Linked DNA regions of Homo sapiens: region 2 is linked to region 1. Evidence: promoter capture Hi-C in human tissues and cell types (Jung and others, 2019). All regions are on one chromosome and are shown on one strand. The core of a region is centred on a gene start or on the middle of the fragment in contact, and the rest is flanking DNA. Distances in the headings are between cores, read along the strand shown.

What was found. The method cuts DNA at HindIII sites, captures the fragments that hold promoters and counts their contacts. A contact is called where the count stands out against the background at its distance.
Region 2: a contact is called between a fragment that was not itself captured here and the fragment with the promoter of ZDHHC21 in region 1, in 2 of the 25 tissues and cell types used here (mesendoderm cells and thymus).

The regions. Positions count from the first base shown.
Region 1 is chr9:14,692,182-14,696,616 of GRCh38, reverse strand. ZDHHC21 (zDHHC palmitoyltransferase 21) reads left to right here and starts at 3,185. Exons shown (of 10, transcript NM_178566.6): 1 at 3,185-3,388. RefSeq lists an enhancer at 2,680-3,180 and silencers at 3,254-3,323, 3,404-3,543. The HindIII fragment of the contact is 8,706 bases long and covers 1-4,435 here.
Region 2 is chr9:14,758,108-14,762,542 of GRCh38, reverse strand. It overlaps FREM1 (FRAS1 related extracellular matrix 1), which reads left to right. Exons shown (of 37, transcript NM_001379081.2): 28 at 2,642-2,771. Among named protein-coding and RNA genes, the nearest start is that of CER1, 38 kb to the right of the region's middle. The HindIII fragment of the contact is 4,095 bases long and covers 1-3,297 here.

The sequences.
Region 1 (4,435 bases), core at 1,936-4,435:
TTTCCTTGTAACTCTGTTTAGCACTGCTATTGTTTTTTTCTCCTAAGCACACAGTCGTTTTTGTTTGTTTGTTTTGCAGTTTTCCTTGATATTTGGGGAAAAATGTTTATTTTACCTACTCTCTACATTCTAGGGATATTTCTTAGCCTGAAGTTCCTGGCTTCGCTGTGATCCTTTGGAGGCATAGGAAGGTGGGGCAACTTGTGAAACTTCATATATATAAATTTCATATATATAAATATATATGTTCCTGTATGTGTGTGTGTATATATGTGTGTGTGTGTGTGTGTGTGTGTGTATTTGTGTATATGTGTACTTTGCTGGGGTCCACAACTTTCATCAGATACTCAAAGAGATGTGTAACCCAAAAGAGAAGAGGTTAAGAACAACTTTTAGAATATTAGATTGTTATGGCACAGGCACTCTGCCACTCAAACAGATGGGAGAGACAACTATAGGCAACCAAGAAATCATGAATGTGCATCAAATATGGGTGCTTAAGGCATGGTACCCAGCTGGGCAGGTGGAGAATGCCATCCATCCAAAGCTGCCAAGGGCTATTAGCCAGTACTGATTAAACTCTGGACTGCACTGATTTTTGGAAATTGCACTAAAATCCAGATCCTCCCTAGTCACGGCACAGAAGCACAGGAGTTGGCTGTGTTTACCCTCATAAATGCCCTGAGTGTGCCTTTGTTAGAAGCTTGGTTGGCAGTGGCAGCAATGCTACTTGTCCTTGTCTACTTTTTCTACTTCCAGATAAATATTAGTTTGATTAATAATCACATTTCAGTTTGTCCCAGGCCCCATGAAGTAGATTAGAATTCTGGAGGGAAAAAATATGGTACGATCTATATCGTCTTTCCATAATATACCCAGTAAATAGAAAATCTTTTCAAAAGATTACCTGATGCCACATCTCCCTCACCCCCTTATTGTTACCCAGGTGCCTGAATGTATGGGTTGCAATACAATATAACCAATGATTAGCATGAATGATAGAACCAGATGACTTGACCTTCAGTGTAAGGGATAGGCAGGCCTTTGATTATACTCATGAAATGCCCATGCTAAAAAGGTTCATGTTTTTAAGGATGTTTCTCCTGCCTCTTCTCTCCTATTCCCTTGCTTAAAAATTCTCTGTGGAATTGATTTGGCTGATAAAAGACAGGCTAACTTATTTTAAAAAGGGACTGAAAAATCCATGCACTTCCAATTGTCATGTGCAATCATGGACCTGTCAACTAATTCTTATTTTGGCAGTTTTGAGATCACTTGTCACAAATTATTCCCTCTCACAGGGGTATCTGAAGAGAAAGCAAAATAATATGCAATTCATGTAGCTGGATTCAGGTGGAGGGGATTCTACTTTTAATATGCAATTGGGTAGCTGGATTTGGGTGGGGGGGGGATTTTACATTTAATATGCAATTCTGGTAGCTGGATTCGGGTAGGGAGGAGTCCACATTTAATATGCAATCAGGTAGCTGGATTTGGGTAGAAGGGATTCACATTGAATACGCAATCAGGTAGCTGGATTCCGGTGGGAGGATTCCACATTTCCTCTTCCTTCAAAGTGATTGTTTATATGAAATATCTCCTTCTTTTCAAACAGAGAAAGTTACAAAAATCCTACTACATCAAATGATTTATGAAAAATAAAGGTAATTCTATCAAAAGCAATCGTGACTAGTCTTTCAACCTCGCTATGCATATATCGGGGAGTGTATTTGTTAACCTGAAAGGCAATAAAATCTGCTTATGGGTAAATCAATTCCTACCACTGGGTTCTTTTGGGAATATCTAGTAATCTAGGTCAGTAATTCTAAAACTTGAGTGTGTATTAGGATCACCTAAAAGGCTTGTTACATCACGGATTGCTGGGCTACACCTAAACAGTTTCTACTACAGTAGATCTGGGATGGGGCAAAAGAATATGGATTTCTCACAAGTTGACAGGTGATACCGATGCTGCTGGTCTAGGGATCCCACTTTGATAACCACTGACCAAAGTTTTTAAGGTCACAAGGTGTTTATAATTAGTTCAGAAACCAGGACACAACATGTTTAAAAATCCTTAGCAATACAAGGTAATATGAGGCCCCAAACAGGCAACAATGTGCACTATATAAGGGCAGTGGTGAGAGAACTCTGGTTTGGCAAGATTTCCACTCTCAAATCTGGATAGGGTTAAGATCATCAGAGAGCAGGGCATTCTAGAATGGGGAAATGAACCAAATTAGTTGGAGCTAAGACTGGAGAGGTAGGTAGGGATGTGTCTGTGGAGGGCTTTTAAGCACATCTTATAAGGAATACAGATTTTATACAACAGGTAATATTTCTTCCACCAACACACTGTCTCCTCCTGTGGCACGTGGGCAGAAAGATCTAGCTCCACATTACTGCAAACGGTTTAACCTTCCCCAAATACTGTTCAGCCGGAGTGAGGTGGGAAAGTTAGTAGATCTCTGGTGTTTGGTGAAGATACCAAGTTAGACTGAGAGGTGGATTACTTGCATCGCTGAGTCCAAAAGTTGTCGGCTTTTGCAGGGATGGGAAAGCAGGAAACTTTTGGAGGTCTCCCAAAATATAAGAAAAGATTGTTTGGGTGTGGATTTAGGTTGAGGACAGGAACAGGAAATATCCTGGGATGTCTGAGGCAACCCAATAGAGGGTCTGAAGTGGACGAGACCATGCACTACAGTGCAATGCTTTTCCATCTTTACGGTGCACCCCAGGAGTCACCTGGTGATCTTGCTGAAGTGCATGTACTGATTCAGCAGGCCTGAAATTGTGCATTTCAAAGATTGTGAGTTCCCAGAGGATGCTGATGCTGCAGACCGCGCTTTGAAGCAAGGTACCATGGGACATCCCAGAACACCTGCGGGGAGAGAGGCCTGCTGGCCACATCCCCCGAAGAAAGGATACATGCAATCTTTTAAGCTAAGGCCCCCATCCTGTCTCTCGGGAGAGGTGAGCAGTGAGGATATGGGGACAATGAGAAGGACGGCTCAAGTAGGGCTGGGGAGGGGCAGAGGCGCCCAGGCGCGCCAGGTGCAAGCGCTCTGGAGAGTGCGGTCTGCCTGGGTCCGCGGCTCTGGGGCTGCGGCGCGATTGCAGGAGTTTCGGCCCTCAGCGGCTCCCATCGCGGCTCCCGGGAGCTAAGCGAGACGGCGACGGCGGCAGTCGTCCCTCCCCACGCGGGCGCGCGGGCATGCGGACACCCACTCGGCCGGTCCAGGCCCTCAGGCTCCCGGAAGCGGAAGGGGAGAGCGGCCCGGCCTGGGCGGCGGCGCCGGAGGAGGCGGAGGTGGCGCGGCAGGAGGAGGGGAAAGAGCTGCTGGCGGTCGGGAGAGCGGCGGCAGCGAGAGGCGAGCCAGCGGCGACGGTGAGTGTGCAGGCGCGGGGGCGAAGCGGCCGCCCCCACCCCCATCCCCATCCGCACCCCCACCCCCATCCCCGGCCCCCGCTCCGCTCTGCCGGGCCCGCCCGCCGCTCCTCCGCGCCGGGACGCCCTCACCTGTTCCTGCACGCCCCCTGCACCTGCTCTGTTTGGAACCCGGGGGTTTCTCGGTGCCTCCCCGCCCCAGGCCTGGCCTTTTTCAGAGCGTCTTCTGCTAGAGCTACAGCCCCTTGCTAAGTGCTCCTCCCTCAACTGGGGGTGGGGGGTTCCTGCTCTAGTCGAGACGATGTTGGCTAGTTATTTATTTATTTATTTTAAATCTGTATCCTGAGTTTCTCGCTTGTAAACTACAGTTTCTCTCCCCGCACCCCCGTCTGGAGACCTGCACTGGGATCCCGGGTTTCTCTGTGCTATTCCAGAGCTTTTCATTCATTCCAGACTTCTGGTGTGAAGCTGCAGAGAGGACAAACAGTTTGCTCCTTTATTGACCTTCTCACTCCTCTCCTCTTGATCCAAAGAGGTTTTCGGAAAATGGCTTATGGATGGCAGCAGTTTGCACTTGTTACTGTTCACTGTAACAGGTCGCTGGATTGTAACTGCAGAGTCCATTTAAGTTACGGTCTTTTTCAAGCTATATGTGGGTCACATTTTAAGATCCCTTGAGAGTCAGGGTGGATGTCTGTATCACCAGGGCTGAGAGGACATGACCAATTATTACTTTAAAATATTGCAATATAGCAGTCTCTAAAAGTAGAAGAGAAAAAAAAATCAAGGTCATTGTGGGCGGGTCATAAATTATATTGTAAAGTTACAGTCCAAAGGCGACTAAGGATAATTAAGTGCAATTTAAAAAGATGTGTTAAATAGGTCCTCAGCCTACTATGCTAATATATGCACTTTTAAAAATTCACTGCTTTCCTTGTGGTAAGAATAATATTAATAACAGTCACCATTTGATGACTGCTTAGTATGCGCCATTCCTGGATTAAAAGGCTTTTGGTGTAATATTAAATTCTTCCAACTCTTTAGATT
Region 2 (4,435 bases), core at 1-2,500, 68 kb before region 1:
CAGGGAAATGCATGCACATTCCCAAACAGTAAGACCCTTTATACCTTGAAGCTGAACAGCCCTCTGAATGGTTCCCTTCTGAATTTAGATCAGAAATCAAATTGCATTTAGCTTTTCGCCTTGAGGTCACCAGGATCTACAGAATGACATTGATGGATTTTTACTTGTCATGGTTAGCATTAGCAATGGATGAATTCTCAGAAGAATTGGACATTGAAACTCATTTGAACCCTACTGATGGCTGAAATCCATGCAAATGTATTTGTTTCATTCTTTCCCACTGTCCTCCTTTCCTTCCCATTTCATCTTTCTCTCTTTTCCCCTAATCCATCTTGCTGACTTTTTTTTTCTTTCTCATTCAACTGGATCCTTTTGGGATTCTTTGCAACATATTTCTATTGGCATTTATGATATCCTTGTTGTTTGTTATCTTGTAATTCTTTAGGCACACACTAATCCCTCCTATCTGTGGGAGATATGTTCTAAGACCTCCAGCAGATGTCTAAAGTGCAAATAGTATTGAACCCTATGTACACTGTGCTTTTTCCTGTACTGCACATACGTTGCTAGGATAAAGTTTAATGTACAAGCTAGGCACAGTAAGAGATTAATAACTAATAAAATAGAACAACTATCATGGGATGCCAGCATCACTACTCTTGCACTTTGGGGCCATGATTATGTAAAATTAGAGTGACTTGAACACAAGCACTGTGACACTGTGGCTGGCAGTCAATCTGATAACCAAGCCAGCTACAGAGTGACTAATGGGCAGGTAGCATCTACTGTGTGGATGTGCTGGACAAAGGGATGATTCTTGCCCCAAGTGGAACAGCAGGGGATGATGTGAGATTTCATCACACTACTCAGAACAGCATGATGTTTAAAAGTTATGAATTATTTGTTTCTGGGATTTTTCACTTAATATTTTCAGATCACGGTTGACCACAAGTAACTGAAACCTTCAGAAAGCAAATTGTGAAAAAGAGGGATTACCGTAGTCATTTATTTCTGTTTCTTGATCTGTTTCATGCGAGATTTAAATTCAGTTGCATCAGAGACCCATAAAGTTTCCAATTTTTTTAATACAAGGATCCTCTTTTCTTGTTTAAAATTCTATTAATATGAAGTAGCAATAAACTCAAACAATAAATTTTAAATCTGACTGAATAAACAGGTATGTTTATATAGATTCATGAGCCCCTGTAATAATTCCATGCTCTTACCCTACCCTTGCCCCCTAGCCCATGATGCTCAGCTATGAACCTACACTGTTGAGTTTATCTGGCTCGTGAGCTTAATCCATAGAACGTGATTATGACACATGATCAGTGTGGACACAGTGGTTATTTGAAGACAAACTTCCTCCCTAATATGAATGGCCCCAGGAAAGCCTGGAGAGTGTGTGAAATATGTGAACACATGTTCCATATGGTGGCACCCAGAATTTCTAGTTCCACAAAAAAAGAAAGAAATTATAATAAATAAACTTAAAAGTAAAGAGGAAAGAGTCTAAATCTGACTAGAGGTTTGGGAAGTACAAGTAAGGCAACCACTAAGGATTTTGTAAATCTAGAATAAAAGGCAACTGAATAAAAAACAATGGAGGTGCAGTTAACAATCGTAGTGAAGGTTGCTTGTGTCTTTTATCCTGCTCTATAGTAAGGTTACAGATGGCAAAAAAAAGGCAAGACCTCAAAAAGGAAAATGTTTCTGGGTAAAGATAAAACCGTATTGCTCTGCTTGAGCTCACAAAAGAGTCGCAAAGAACTTCAGTTGGGGAGAGAAATGGTAGAGGTTGGATGGAAGATTTGGCATTAGATTTATGCTTGAATTTCATCTCTGCTATTAGCTTTGTCATGACTTTTTGCCTTTAAGTTAGTTACTTAACCTCTCTGAAGCTTGTTTGTCTGTTTGTTTTTGAAAAAAAATGTTCCTCTCTAGATGAAGATTAAAGAAGACAGTTTCCACCAAATGTTGGACTCACTAAATATATTGTGGAAAGAAAGACTATCCTCTATTTCTCAGGTTTATTTAGTTATATAGTTGCATCCAAGCCTCATACCAGTAGAGTCCTTTTTTTATGCACAGAAAGAGAAACAAATAACACTTATGAAACACATGTACATTTTAATTCCCAAGCACATCCTCAAAAATATTTTGTTATTAAACTGAACCCAAGTTCAGAGAATATCTCTGTCTGGAATTGTTCTTGTTGTACCAATTATCCTTATCTAAATGATAAGATAGAAGACTTCCTATCAGTGTCTTTTCCAAAAAGGAATGTCTCCTTGAACTTAACAACTGCTGGTTCCTTTCCCTTCAAAACATTCACGATTGAGTCCCCTTTTAGTTGTAAATATCTGGGAGACATTCAGCAGCCTTTTAACCTTAGATTCTTCATTTGTGAAATGGAATTCTAATCCTTGCTCTGTCTACCTTACAGGGTTGTTGTAAGGATCAAATGAGATAATGTTAGTAGACATTCTTTGTGAACTAAAATGTGTCAAATAAGTCTTAAGGAATTTCCATCACTGGTGTAGGTTGATCAACCACGTTTTTCCACTAGTCCGCTCAGCAGAGAATCCCTATAGGCATATACTATGCATTCTCATGATTTCTCTTTTCCTTTCACACACAGTTTGGAACTGAAGTGGTCTCATATTGAATGGTCACAGACCGAATATGAAGTCTGTGAGAATGTGGGTTTGTTGCCCTTGGAAATTATCAGAAGGGGATATTCCATGGACTCGGCCTTTGTGGGTATAAAGGTAATGACTCTGAAATGTAAATTATCAAGCTAAAACTTATGTTGTTCTTTGGTGTCTTTCATTATATTTTTTTTAGAAAAATTCAGAGTGACCAAGGAAATTTCAAATTGCAGGGAGATCCCACTATTCTGAGGATTCTAAGCACAAAACCTCCTTGGCCCTCCATCCATCATCTAAGTTCATAAACTCTGAGATATGATTTTTTAGTGTACGTGTTGCTGAAGCTAGCACAAGAGATATTATTATTATTATTGTTATTTTGAGACAAAGTCTCGCTCTTGTCGCCCAGGCTGGAGTGCAATGGCACAATCTCGGCTCACAGCAACCTCCACCTCCCAGATTCAAGTGATTCTCCTGCCTCAGGCTCCCGAGTAGCTGGGATTACAGGCACCTGCCACCAGGCCCTGCTAATTTTTGTATTTTTAGTGGAGACGGGGTTTCACCATGTTGGCCAGGCTGGTCTCGAACTCCTCACCTCAGGCAATCCATCCACCTTGGCCTTCGAAAGTGCTGGGATTACAAGCGTGAGCCACCTTGCCTGGCTGAGATATTAATTTTTAAAATCCATTTTTAATTTTGAAAGCTGTTATTTGTTTCTATGAACTCTTTAGACTTTGAGGTTTTATTTCATAGGGAGCTATATTCAACTTTGTGAACTTGGGCTGAACTCTGCTTTAGAAAGAGATGTTGTATGCAAGACATTCTGTGGGGTACCCAGAGCAAATTTCAGTCCCAAGAGGCTTTCTCTTAGTATTCACCTCAGTCACTTCCCATGGGCTCAGTTGATGAGGCAAATAGGCAGCTTAAACCCATCTATCTTAAGAGTTGTCCAAGCCATACAAAATTAGGAGAGCATATACTAATACAGGCACCCTGAAATATGAAGAATTTTCAGTTAACCACTTCTAGATCAGTCAACTTGCTATTTCTTTTCATTGATGTGACCCATGAAGCACAACCTATGGCTTCTAGAATTGAAGAATTTTTTTTAGGAGTCGTTATAACAAGAGCGCTTCAAGAGAATGAGAGCATGAAACACTTGTACACACTAATGATGGAGAATGAGCTGTAAAGACTCCCCCCCACCCCATCCCCCCACCATCTGATGAAAAAGACACTGGTATTAGCTTCTGGGGAAAAGGCCATTTCTATTAAGTCTCAATTTAATAATGAACTCAAATCACTCTCAGAAGCCTGGGAACATAAATTTGACCATATCCAGGCTCAGTATTTATCTTTCCAGTGGACACAGGTCCTTTTTCCTAGATCTGTTGGTTACTTTTTTGTTATTAAGACAGGAGAAAACTTGGCATGCCCTATAGTTTTCCAGAAGATTGCTTATGGAATAAGGAAGAATCTGCCTGGATGGTTTTCTAATAATCCTCCCGTCCTCCATAGAAAGCACCATATGCTCTAGGCTGGAGTTTTGGGCCACGCCACCATTCACCTTGCCAGGTAGAAAGAAGAGGCATGGTGTTACATGGAACCTTATGCTTATTTATGCTGAAAGTGCACAACAAACGTGCCAGCTGAGTGTGCAGGCCTTCATCAAGCACAGTCCCAGAGTCTTTCAGGACAACTCTACCCTGAGCACAACCTGCAGCCTTACACTAGAGCTTGGCTGCTTGACTGGGAGCAGGGAAAGAGGTGGTGCTTTTACCCTG